Regions from separate parts of the Homo sapiens genome. Here regions 2, 3 and 4 are each linked to region 1. The links are contacts of gene promoters, found by promoter capture Hi-C in human tissues and cell types (Jung and others, 2019). All regions are on one chromosome and are shown on one strand. Each heading gives the region's core, a stretch centred on a gene start or on the middle of the fragment in contact. The rest is flanking DNA. Distances are from core to core; before and after follow the strand shown.

Region 1 (3,279 bases), core at 1-2,500:
GCTCTACCTCTGACCTCTCCGGAGGTTCCGCTGCCTCCAAGCCGGACTTAGGGCTTCAAGAGGCGGGCGTGCCCTCTGGAGTCCCCTACCATGACTGAAGGCGCCAGAGACTGGCGGTGTCTTAAGACTCCGGGCACCGCCACGCGCTGTCAAGCAACACTCTGCGGACCTGCCGGCGTAGTTGCAGCGGGGGCTTGGGGAGGGGCTGGGGGTTGGACGGGATTGAGGAAGGTCCGCACAGCCTGTCTCTGCTCAGTTGCAATAAACGTGACATCTTGGGAGCGTTCCCCAGAGTTTGTCTGCTTCTAGAACCCGGGTCGCTCCTGCTGCGGTTCCAGGTTTGGCCGCCAGAAGACGCTGCCGCCTCAGACGAGGGCGGGCTGTGTGGGGCGGGAGTACCAGAAAGGGTCGGCGTGTGTCCCCGGGATGCTCGCAGCTTCCCTCTGCCCAGACTGGGGTGGCTTTCGGCGCAATCTGTCAAGCTGTTGGACCTGCCGTCCCCACTCTGACCATTGGCTGGGAAAAGTGGATCTGGCTGATGCTCCCAGAGCCCAGGAGCCAGGGCGGAGCGGGGCGGCGGCTGCTCCCACGATCCCAAGGCCGCGCACCTGCCTCCTCCCCCTCCGCCGCCGCCACCTGAGGGATCGGGAACAAAGGTGCTTTGTACAGGCCGCAACCACCTCATTACTTCGTCTTAGGGACTGGGGCCGCGTGGGCCCCCAGCCCGGAACGAAGGTGTGGAGCGGCAAGGGACAGACGCCAATCCTAAAGTGAGCATCTAGCGCGCCACCTAAGGCTCTTTAGGGAAGGTGGTCCCAGAGCTGTGTTGTCCCTTCCGCTTGCACTGTCCCTAGATGTGCAAAGAAAACGGGGCAGTGCATGAAGGTGGTTGGACAGGCTTCATGGATCCTCGCCCGCGCCTCACTTTCCCCTATCTGGGCAAAGGTTATGTACCCTTATTTAAAATCTTCCAAACTTCTAATAAGGCAGTCTACCCTGCACTAAAGCAGACACGAAAGAGATGACCTCCCTAAAAATACTGCTGTTGGAATACGTCCTTCCTTCCCGCCCCCTCGCAGTGCGGTGCAGCCTCAGTGGAAGCTTTGGCGAACCTGGCGCGCGCTGCGGTGCACAGAGGGTTAACTGGAGTTGGCGCTGGGTGGAGAGGAGGAGACGCGCTCCCATTGGCGGAAAGTTATTCAGGGGCGGGGTCAGTGAATCTCCGTACCCCACTCCCCTTTCCGCAACTTCCCTCTTCACTTTGTACCTTTCTCTCCTCGACTGTGAAGCGGGCCGGGACCTGCCAGGCCAGACCAAACCGGACCTCGGGGGCGATGCGGCTGCTGCCCCTGCTGCGGACTGTCCTCTGGGCCGCGTTCCTCGGCTCCCCTCTGCGCGGGGGCTCCAGCCTCCGCCACGTAGTCTACTGGAACTCCAGTAACCCCAGGTAGCCGGGCCGAACCGGGCGAGCGCACAGCCAAGTCTGCGCGCTCCCGGGCTTTGCGCGCGCCCGCCACCCGCTCTTTGCGCGGCGCCGCCTGAGCCTGGCCGCGCGCCGGGGCTCCTTTGTTTGAGCCGGCGGGGGAGGGGGGAGGGGCGAGGGGCGAGGCGCGCCCTGGGTCTCCCCACAGCCCGCATGTGTTGGGGGGCAGGCAGAAGACCCCAGCCCCAAGGGTTGTCTAGGGGGTCTTGGAGCATGGAGCTGGGGGGGCCTTTGCCCGCACTCCGGGCTCCGCCCCCCTCGCTGCTCTCCTGGCGATCCCCAGCCTCCCGCAGGCTGGAGCTGTGGCTGACGAACTTGAGAGCGAGGGAGGGGGCTTTACTCTTATGAAAGAGCGTGGGTTACTCTCCTGCCCGCTGGGTCTCACCTCTGGCTCTCACTCTGTCTCCTGATCTCATTTGCTATCTCTGCTTTCATCTCTGTCTTTATTGGTCCTTCTGTTTCTTTCCAGTGTCAGCCCTGCCCTTCTAGCCGAATCACCTCTGGGCAAGTCTCGTGACCTTCCTAACCTCATTTATCTCACCTGTATAATGGGCTAATAATACCTAGTACCCTGGGAAGTCTGGCAGGGTAAGTGAGGTCATGTATGTGAAAGAGGCTCAGGCTGTACAGATATAAACTATTATTTCTTTCTCTCTCCTGAGCTGCCTGCCTTTGAACCTTAGTATATTTTACTGTTTCCATCCCCCTCCCCAAGTCTCCCTGCCTCTCCTATTTCCTATCTGTTTTTCTTTCTGATTTTCTACTTGAGACAATCTGTGACTATTCATTTCTTCACTCACTAACATTTATTTATTAAACACATACTGTGTGTGCCCGGCCCTGTGCTAGGTTGCAGGGGATTAACTATATAGATGAGAAGATCAAGACCCTGCCCTCTGGGATTCCACAGACTCTCTGGAGAACAGGCGCAGGCAGGAGAGCCTGCATAAAGACAGGTCATTACAATACCAATAACAAGTGATAAGAGCTTTTGTTGTCCTTGGACTCTGAATTCTCTATCTCTGTCACAGACCAAAGCTTCTGAATCACTTGGAGGACCTGTTAAAAATTCAGGTTTCTCACCCCCCAATCTTAAGGTTTCTGGCTCATTCATTCAATCCACAAATATTTATTGAACACTGTCCTGTGCTGGGCACTTTTCCAGGCACGGGGGATGCAGTAGAACAAAACTTACCAAGGCCCTGTCCTTGCTCAGCTTGCGTTCTAGTAAGTCTGGGCTGGCTGAGCCCAGGAATCTTCATTTCTAATCAGAACTGATACAGGTCGTCCTTGGACCACCCACTGGAGGCTTTTCCTAAGTCATGCTTCGCTGTGTTTGTGGTATGGGGGGTGGTTCATGCAGCATTCAGTACTGTGGGGAGCAGCCCCTTCCAGCCCTTCCCACCTGTGCTGGCTTCCCCAGGCAGCTCCCAAGAGGTGGGGAAGGGAGTCCTGAGAAGACTGAAGACTGGGTAGTATGTGGACTCCCCCCATGCCTGGCACTTGCTCCTCCTGGCCAAAAAAGGGAGGCACCTAGCACCCACTCCCTCATTCTTTTTTTTTTTTTTTTTTTAATTTTTAGAATTTAGAGACAGGGTCTTGCTCTGTCACCCAGGCTGTAGTGCGGTGGCATAATAGCTCACTACAGGAACTTGCGGACTCTAAGGATCCTCCCGCCTCAGCCTCCCAAGTAGCTGGGACTACAGGAGTGCACCACCACTCATGGCCTTTATTTATTTATTTATTTATTTATTTATTTATTTATTTATTTATTTTTTGAGATGGAGTCTCGCTCT
Region 2 (3,037 bases), core at 469-2,968, 300 kb before region 1:
TACATTTTCATTTCACATCTGCCCACTCTTCTCTATCATAAGGATCATATATATTCTGGCACCCTATTAGAGATGCCCAAGACTCTTCTTTCTTTTTCCTTTTTTTTTTTTTTTTTTGAGACAGGGTCTCACTCTGTCACCCAGGCTGGAGTGCAGTGGCGCAATCTCTGCTCGCTGCACTCTTGACCTCCCAGGTTAGGTGATCCCCCCACCTCAGCCTCCTGAGTCTACAGATGCACCACCACTCCCGGCTAATGTTTTTTTTGGTTTTTTTTTGTTTTGTTTTGTTTTGTTTTTGGCAGAGATGGGTTTTTGCTGTGTTGGTCAGGCTGGTCTCCAACTCCTGACCTCAAGCGATCCACCTGCTTTGACCTCCCAAAGTGTTGGGATTACAGGCGTGAGCCACTGTGCCTGGCCACCCAAGACTCTTCTAATGTTGCTTTTTGTTTTTCATAATTAAACATTTTTCAGGAATCTTCAGGATTATTTTCCTCTTCCTTAATGCTGCAGGTTTTTCTCAAAGGCCTCCAGCAGGATCCCTGTCGCCTCCCCACCTTCCCCCTCCCCAGCCATCTATCTCTCCGCCTGGCACCAGAAGGGGATCGCTACAGGCTGCTCCTTCCCTACAGGAGGCTAACTTCTCACTTCTCCAGCTAGAGGGCAGGGTTCCTGGGTCTAGCAGGCTTCATCCCATGTGGTAGGCTACTTTCCTATCCTCTCTAACTAGTCCTCTGATATCATAAACCAGTGGTTTGCAAACTTTTAAAATCATGGGCTCCTACCAATTAAAAATTTTTTGAGCATGCCCTCCTCCATTATACATATATTTATTATAAATTACAGACATGTATTGCTCTCTATCCATTTATTAAATACTAGCCAGGCTTTATATATATATATATATATATATATATGTAGAAGTTCTGATCATTTCTCCCAATAGTCCCATGGATCACTGTGCGTGTGCCCCACATTGGAGGTTATAACTCAAACCAAAGCAGTCCATGAGGAACCACAGTGCCTGGCCCCACTGTTCCCAGGCTCTGCTCAGTTCTGCTCAGCCTACAGGGTTTAGCTTGCAGGCTTCCATCAACCCCATGTAGGGTGCTTCATCCCTGTAATGACCACTTTCCTACTGTTTTGTTTTGGGGTTTGTTTTTTTTTTTTTGAGATGGAGTCTGGCTCTGTCACCCAGGCTGGAGTGCAGTGGCGTGATCTCGGCTCACTGCAAGCTCCGCCTCCTGGGTTCACGCCATTCTCCTGTCCCAGCCTCCCGAGTAGCTGGGACTACAGGTGTGTGCCACCATGCCCGGCTAATTTTTTTGTATTTTTAGTAGAGACGGGGGTTTCACCGTGTTAGCCAGGATGGTCTCGATCTCCTGACCTCGTGATCTGCCCGCCTCGGCCTCCCAAAGTGCTGGGATTACAGGCGTGAGCCACCGAGCCTGGCCATTCCTACTGTTTTCTTGGAGTGGAAGTACCCCTTCTTGGAGGGGGTAGGAGGTTGTGGGAAGGAGATGGGAGGAGGAGGGAGCTGTGGTCTTGCTTCCTGCTGCTGGCAAGTGCAGGCCTGGGTGTCTGAGGCAGGGGCAGAAGAGAGTACAGCAAGGAAGCCTCTTTTTATCTCCTTACAATGGGAGTGGTGGCTCTCTTAATGAGAGAAAGAATGGGCCACAAATTGTTTTTCTCCTGCTTTAGGAGCCAGATCTCCAGAATAAAATTTCTCATTAAAATATCAGTATGCCAAAAGTTAACCAGCAAAATAAAAAACCTGTTGACAGACTGGAAGGCCTGGGACACTGAGACAGCCTGTTGCAGAATTTGGAGCCTCAGGAGGGACCAAAGTGAAGGGTCCAAAGGGTCCGAAGGGAATCCACTCAAGAGGACAGTAAGGTCATTTATAAAGCATGGCTGTGACAGCAAGGCTCACCCCACTTCATCAATGTTATGGGAGGCCTTGTTGCTCCTCCCAAGGAGATAAACATACAAAGGTGAGCTGGCAGGCCACTGCACTGCTCAAGGCACGCTAGGAAGGCTGGCTCTCCAACCTGCTGCCGCAGTGAGGACCCGGGGCCTCAGATGGTCTCTCCACCAGTAAAGCTGCTTGGCACTTGACAGTGTAAAATCAGGAGGTTCCTCCCTGAGGGAGGTGGGCAGGCAGCCAGGAGAATCCCAGAGAATGCAGAGTGCCACAACTGTCAGGCCTCGGAACCCATGATGTAATGCCTCTCTGGGGGCCAAGGAAAACAAGCCCACTGTTGTCACTGCCCTCCCAGCAACCAGGCGCTGCCCTCCCCATGGCACGGCTGTTCTGCGTAATTATGATCCCACTTTCTCTCCTTGGGAGGAGGAAATATGAAAAACCTTTGTTGTCACATAAAAACCAACCCAAGATATGAGAACTGTCTTTTAAAATACATCTTGCTGTAGAGAGATTTCCATAGCAACTTCAGAAGTGTGTGTATACAACTAGAGATAAGTCCAGGCTGATGAAAGCTACCTGGAATGTGAACAGGCTCTGGGCATCAGCAGCTGTGGATTTTTCTAGAACCTGTCATGCTGCTGTGTGACCCTGGGCAAGTCACTTACCCTCTCTGATGCCTAAGGTGATAGAATCATCATTAGATCAGGCTGAGAGAGATCAAGGCATCCTGTCCACACTACCCTGGTCTGACGCTTCAGTTCCCCAAAGCTTCCCCTGCTTCCAGCTTCTGTCCAGTCTCTGGCTGAATAAGTCCTGGCTGAAGGCCTCTGCCAATCTTACTTATTATTTGACATTGGGAAACAGAATGATCATTTAAGCTTGATTCTAAAAATAGTGCTTAGTCTTGGTAAGAGAAGTGCTTTGCCTGTTTAGGAAACAATATATTAACGGGGCAGATTCCTGGGAAACAGTCTGTGAGATGCTGAGATTTGGGGGTGGGAGTTTTACTGGGGCTGCTCTCAGGATCAATACCTCTGGGGTATAGAGGAAGTTCCCGGATGCAGTGGTAACAGAGGCCTTAGGCGATCCCTCAGGGACCCTGGAGCCTGGCTG
Region 3 (3,225 bases), core at 344-2,843, 380 kb before region 1:
CGAAATCGCACTACTGCACTCCAGCCTGGGTGACAGAGCAAGACTCTGTCTCAAAAACAACAACAACAACAAAAAACCTAAAACAAACAAAAAAAAGAAATCATGCCAAGGAATCTAGACTTTATCCCGCAGGCAGGGAGAGCCCCTGAAGAATTTTCAGGCAGAGGAGAGTATAATTTGAGCTCTAGATGGTTCTTATTTAAAAGCCCATCTTTTTGGCTCCAAGAATTTTGACATATTGAAGAAAAGAGAGATCATAATTTATAATTCATTTAGCCAGAAGCATCACAGCAATTTTGGTGAGAGAAGAGAGTAGATTGTTGAGTTGAATGCATGGTGGTTGTTATTTCACAGACTTACCTCATTTGGGGGGAAAGGAAGAAAAGAGAGTATTTTCACAGTGCAGGATATGGAGGCACGACTGGGGAGAATCCATTTCTGTGCCAGTCCCCACTCGGTGGAAGATGGCAGAGGGGCCTAACTAACTAGCGGGTTAGGTGGGCAGAAGGGCTGAGAGCTGTGGGGAGGAGCTGTGCACCTGCCGGGGTTACAAGTGTGGGGGGCGCTCTGTAGGGGTGAGGTGGGGAGGCAACGCAGCACACACAGGCCTCTGAGAGCCTCCTCAGCAGCAACAAGGGGTTGCCACCTCCCCAGGGCCGCAGAGTTTTCCTTTATGTTCCAGGCTCGATTTTTTTTTTTTTTTTTTTTTTTTTAGACAGACAGATTCTTGCACTGTCGCCCAGGCTGGAGTACAGTGGTGCGATCTTGGCTCACTGCAACCTCCGCCTCCTGGGTTCAAGCAATTCTCCTGCCTCAGCCTCCTGAGTAGCTGGGATTACAGGTGCCCGCCACCACGCCCAGCTAATTTTTGTATTTTTAGTAGAGACAGGGTTTCACCATGTTGGCCAGGCTGGTCTCAAACTCCTGACCTCGTGATCCGCCCTCCTCGGCCTCCCAAAGTGCTGTGATTACAGGCATGAGCCACCATGCTCTGCCTGGGCTCAACTTTTTAATGGCCTTCTTTTAAAAATTCAGATTTCTGCAAAATTATATTGGGATATTTGTCAGTTCTAACGATTTCTTGATGGTTGGGAGGATGATCAAGATTGAAGCAGTAAAGCCTCTTTTTAATCACAGTGCATGATGTGCTTAGATTCCATGGGTATAATATGAGCTGTGCCAGCCACATTCTTGATTTGCAGGCCTTGGGACACTATGTTGAGATTTCCGGCCCTCCTTATTTTATGCTGAGAATCAGTTGGAGCTAGATATGGCAGAGACTAGAAATCGCCATCATTAGATGAAAAGAAACAATGGTTAAGTAAGTCAGCTCCCTCTGGGTAAAACACAAAGCTTGGAAATAACAAGCAGCTCTACACAAGCAACATGAGGCTCGGCTGTGTGTGCCTGTAGGAGGTGACCTCACATATGTTCTCTCATTTAATCTTCACAGCAATCTTCTGGCAAAGGTCCCATCATTATTCCCCTTTTGCAGATGGGGATACTGAGGCTCAGAGTTGAAGCAACTTTCTCCAAGAAGGTTACTAGCTGGTAAATACCTAAGTCAAGATAAGAATTCTGGTCTACATCCTGGCTAACACAGTGAAACCCTGTCTCTACTAAAAATACAAAAAATTAGCTGGGTGTGGTGGCGGGTGCCTGTAGTCCCAGCTACTCGGGAGGCTGAGGCAGGAGAATGGCGTGAACCCGGGAGACGGAGCTTGCAGTGAGCCGAGATTGGGCCACTGCACTCCAGCCTGGGCGACAGAGCAAGACTCCATCTCAAAAAAAAAAAAAGAAAAAGAAAAAAGAATTCTGGTCTAGCTGACTCCAATCCCAGACTAAGCAGGGCTCTTTTTCCTCATGGAAACTTGCAGGGACTGTTTTCTCCTTTGTCCCTTCTCAGTTTGTAGGAGCTTCTGTCATATCTTCAACATCAAAGTCCTCTGGAGATAAAGGTCTGCTTCTAACTGAAGTGTGGACGTCTTGTCTTCTGAACTCCAGATGGCCAGAGGCTCCAGTGTGCCCTGCAGCTCTGCCAGCTTCACTGGTGTCAGGTCATTCCTCCCAGCGACCTCAGATGCAAATACACTCTCTATGCCAGTCAGCCACACTGGACCAGAGGGAAAACTGCATTTTTAGGATGCTGCTTTATTAAGAAATTTTAAAACCATAAAGTATAGCAGGCATATGAAAGAGTGTATAAACACATCCTTATCCAAGTTAAAGGAGAATAAAGTGAACACCTGTGTATTGCCTACCCTGATTGAGAACTAGAACAGTTTCAGGAGCTTAGAATTCCCCTGGCACCCCTCCCCAACCTCATCCCTGTGCCTCCCCCATGAGGTCCAATATGTGTATCTTTAAGCCTATTATTTACTTTTGCCTGTGTTTGAAGATCACACCACTGGAACATGCAGATTGTATGCAAAACAAGCCATCTTCCCTGGCTTGCTTCCTCCCTCAACATTGTGTGACTGAGAGTCACGGCTGCTGATGCACACACCTGTAGTTCATTTATTTCATTTTCGTTGTTGCATCATATTCCTTTGGATGACTCTTCATCCAGTGAATTATTATCCATCCTATTCTTGATTTGGGTTAAGTCTATTGGTTTTGGGGTTTTGTTTTGCAAATAATACTGTGTCTTTAGATAGGCACATATTTAACTTGTCTTAATAATGCCAAATGGTTTTCCAAAGTGCTTATACCAATTACACATCAACTAGTAGTAGGTGAGAGGTCCCGTTGCTCCATATACGATGTTTGGTATTGTCTGATTTTCAGGAGTTTTTTTGGTCACTGTAGTGGTTGGGAAGTGGTACTTTGTGATTTCATTTGCATTTCCTTGATTGCTAATGAAGTTGACCATCTTTTCATGTTTATGGCCATTTGTGATTCCTTTACTGTGAAGTCCCTGTTCCTTGCTTTTGCCTGTTTTATTTTTCCCTCGGAGGGGGAATTGCTTGACTTTGTAAGTTATATGAATTGCAAACATCTCCAAATTTGTGGCTTGTCTGCTCACTTAAAAAAAAATTATGGAACAGAAGGGCTTAATGTAATCTACGCAAATTTGTCAATCATTCCCCTTAGGATTTGAGCTTTTGGAGTCTTCTTTAAGAAATGTTTTCCATTGCCTTCTGAAAAGTATCACAATTTTTCTTTACATTTATGCTTTTAATTCAACCAGAGTTAATTTTTGTATGTAAGTTTAGGTAACTACTG
Region 4 (2,995 bases), core at 169-2,668, 410 kb before region 1:
AAATATATTGGCCAGCTGCTTCCTGGACTCCAAAGTTTCTCATGAGAAGTTCTCTGATAATCTTAATTAGGATCCCTTGTGTGTGACAAGTTGCTTTTTTCTTTCTGCTTTCAAGATTCTCTCTTTGTCTTTCAAAAGTTTGATTACAATGTGTCTCAGAGTGGGTCTCTTTAGTTTATTTTACTTCTTGGGTGTCTATATTCATGTCTTGTATCAAATTTATTATGTGTATATATTTGTGTAACCACCACCAAAATCAAGATAAAGAACAGCTTCATCATTGCAAGGCTCCCTTGTGCTACCCCTTTATAGCCACAACCAGTCCCCCTTCCCCTCATTCCTAATTCTTGACAACAATTAACGTGTTCTCCATCTCTATAATTTTGTTATTTAAGTAATGTTATATAAATGAAATAATACTGTATGTAGCCTTTTGAGATAGGCTTTTTTTTTTCAACTCAGCATAATTCCCATGAGATTCATCTAGATTGTTACACGTATTAATAGCCCATTCCTTTTTATGACTGAATCCTAGTCCATGGTATGGATATACCAGTTTGCTTAACCACTCGCCCATTGAAGTATACTTGGGCTATTTTCAGTTTTGAGATGTTATGAATAAAGTGGCTATAAACATCTGAGCATAGGTTTTGGGTGACTATAACTTTTCATATCTCTGGGATAAATGCCCAAGAATGTAATTGCTGATTTTATTCTTTTTTAGAGAGTACCTTGGATCATCTTGGCTCTTTGCTCTTTCACATATATTTTAGAATTGGCTTGTCAAAATTATGAAAAACACTTTAAAGTTTTGATAGAAATGGCACTGAATCTATGAGACATTTGGGTGAGAATTTAGGATATTGAGACTTTCTAGCCATTGATAATATTTCTCTCTTTTTACTTAATTCTTCTTAATGTATTTCAATAAAGCATCATGATCTTCTTTGTATCAGTACTGCAATTATTCCCAGGTGCCCATACCAGTCAGGAAAGACTGGTTGTGTTATGGCAATAAAACAACCAAAAAAGTTTATTTCTTCCTCATGCTACATGTTCATCATGAGTCAGGGGGCTCTATTCCACATTTTAATTTTTTTCTATCTGTTTTTTCACCTTCTAAAATCCTTAGAATGTTCCACATTTTCATCATTCTTACTTTGAGGCTCAGCCTGAAAGGGAAGCTACTGTAGAACATTGCCAGTTGTGGAGGGAAAAGGGAACTTGGAGAAGCATGCACTGGCTCTTAGGCTTCTGGCTGGGAGTCTGTCACTTCTGCTCACTCTGCATTGGCTAAAGCAAGTCTAAGGCTAGCACTTCTCATATCATGTCTCTCTCTCTCTCTCTCTCTCTCTCTCTGTGTGTGTGTGTGTGTGTGTGTGTGTGCGTTTCTGTCTCTATCTCTCTCCACACGTACACACACCCTCTCCAAGCATCTTGGGAGACCTGAGCCAACACATAAGAAGTCTAGCTACCCTGAAGCCACCATACTAGAGAGATCATGTGTAAAGACCTCACAGAAATAGCGAGAGATGCCTCCAAAACTGAGCTGGCAAGTATTCTCTCTTTTTCTATCGTCCACAAAAACTCCTATAAGATTGGAATGATCTTCTCCTTGAAAATTTCATATAACTCACCTGGAAAATATCAGGGCTTGGTATTTTCTTTGCGGGAACACTTTAAATACTGATTGAATTTCTTTAATTATTATAGAGCTATTCATTCTGCCTTTCTAGTCTTGAATCTGTTTTGGTAAATTATATTTTCTAGGACGTTTTCCATATCATCTAAGTTTTGAATTATTAGCATTGATTTGTTTATACTTTTATGTTTAAATGTTCACTATAACCATAGTTATAGATTTTTATCTCGTTTTCAGTTTTCAGTATTGCTTATCTGTACATGCTGTTTATCTCTGTCTCTTAAATTTTTCCAGAAGTCTTTCAACTTCAAAGAATCAATTTTGGCTTTGTTGATCCTCCGTTTTCAGTTTCATTACTTTCTCTACTTATTGTTATTTTTTTCTTCCTACTACTTTCCTCATGGTTATTCTGCTGTTCTTTTTCTGATTTCCCAAGTTGGAGATTTAGCTCATTATTTTTATTCTCTCTACTTTTTAAATTATAAGCATTTAAAGTTATTAATTTCCAACCTTTTCGGTGTTGAAGTCTTAATTTCGGCAATTTTGTTTTTTATTTCTACAATTTATGTTTGACATTTTTTCATATCAAGGTCATTTTTATAGTCTTGTTCCTCTATCATGTTTTAAAATCTTCTTAAAAACCTGTCAATTCCTCATTTGTTTTACTTCATATGGTCACGTCAATGCTGAAGTCTTTGCGAGTCTGATTTTGCTGTTAATTTCTCTGCTGACTTTCTTTCTTTTTCTTTTTCTTTTTTTTTGAGATGGAGTCTCGCTCTGTCGCCCAGGCTGGAGTGCAGTGGCGCTATCTCAGCTCACTGCAAGCTCCACCTCCCAGGTTCACGCCATTCTCCTGCCTCAGCCTCCCGAGTAGCTGGGACTACAGGCGCCTGCCACCACGCCCGGCTAATTTTGTTTTTGTATTTTTAGTAGAGGCAGGGTTTCACTGTGTTAGCCAGGATGGTCTCGATTTCCTGACCTCGTGATCTGCCCCCCTCGGCCTCCCAAAGTGCTGGGATTACAGGCGTGAGCCACTGCGCCCGGCCTCTCTGCTGACTTTCTCACATGGTGTCTTTTCCTCATATGTATCCTGTAATTTTCATTGTGATCTCATGTTTGTTGGAACTGCACCTGTGAATAATCTTCAAAATTTACATTAAAGGTGTATTCCATTAGAAAGGATTTGTTTTTCCTCTGCTAAGTACATTAGGGACACACCAAACTTGGGACCACTTTACATTCTTGGCTTGGAATTGTTTTGACCAAACAGGTAGCATGAATTTTGGCACCAATGCTTTGTGAAGGACAACTTAATGCTTATGAGTTATTTTGGGGGAGATTTTATTTCATTTT

Evidence for each region. Contacts are between HindIII fragments. The study calls those that stand out against the background at their distance.
Region 2: a fragment that was not itself captured here is called in contact with the fragment with the promoter of EFNA4 in region 1 in 1 of the 25 tissues and cell types used here (adrenal gland).
Region 3: a fragment that was not itself captured here is called in contact with the fragment with the promoter of EFNA4 in region 1 in 2 of the 25 tissues and cell types used here (IMR-90 fibroblasts and dorsolateral prefrontal cortex).
Region 4: a fragment that was not itself captured here is called in contact with the fragment with the promoter of EFNA4 in region 1 in 1 of the 25 tissues and cell types used here (spleen).

What each region holds. Positions count from the first base shown.
Region 1 is chr1:155,062,490-155,065,768 of GRCh38, forward strand. It overlaps EFNA4 (ephrin A4), which reads left to right and starts at 1,251. Exons shown (of 4, transcript NM_005227.3): 1 at 1,251-1,447. The coding sequence starts at 1,335. It overlaps ADAM15 (ADAM metallopeptidase domain 15), which reads left to right. Exons shown (of 23, transcript NM_207197.3): 23 at 1-286. The coding sequence ends at 13. It overlaps EFNA4-EFNA3 (EFNA4-EFNA3 readthrough), which reads left to right and starts at 1,251. Exons shown (of 5, transcript NM_001407761.1): 1 at 1,251-1,447. The coding sequence starts at 1,335. It overlaps DCST1-AS1 (DCST1 antisense RNA 1), which reads right to left and starts at 1,502. Exons shown (of 4, transcript NR_040773.1): 1 at 1,268-1,502. It also overlaps ADAM15-EFNA4. RefSeq lists silencers at 652-741, 1,122-1,271, 1,562-1,711 and an enhancer at 2,202-2,703. The HindIII fragment of the contact is 5,150 bases long and covers 1-3,279 here.
Region 2 is chr1:154,765,530-154,768,566 of GRCh38, forward strand. The region is part of intron 3 of KCNN3 (potassium calcium-activated channel subfamily N member 3); the gene reads right to left. Among named protein-coding and RNA genes, the nearest start is that of KCNN3, 100 kb to the right of the region's middle. The HindIII fragment of the contact is 3,402 bases long and covers 18-3,037 here.
Region 3 is chr1:154,684,650-154,687,874 of GRCh38, forward strand. No RefSeq gene overlaps it. Among named protein-coding and RNA genes, the nearest start is that of ADAR, 78 kb to the left of the region's middle. The HindIII fragment of the contact is 4,265 bases long and covers 1-3,225 here.
Region 4 is chr1:154,656,477-154,659,471 of GRCh38, forward strand. No RefSeq gene overlaps it. Among named protein-coding and RNA genes, the nearest start is that of ADAR, 50 kb to the left of the region's middle. The HindIII fragment of the contact is 9,513 bases long and covers 1-2,995 here.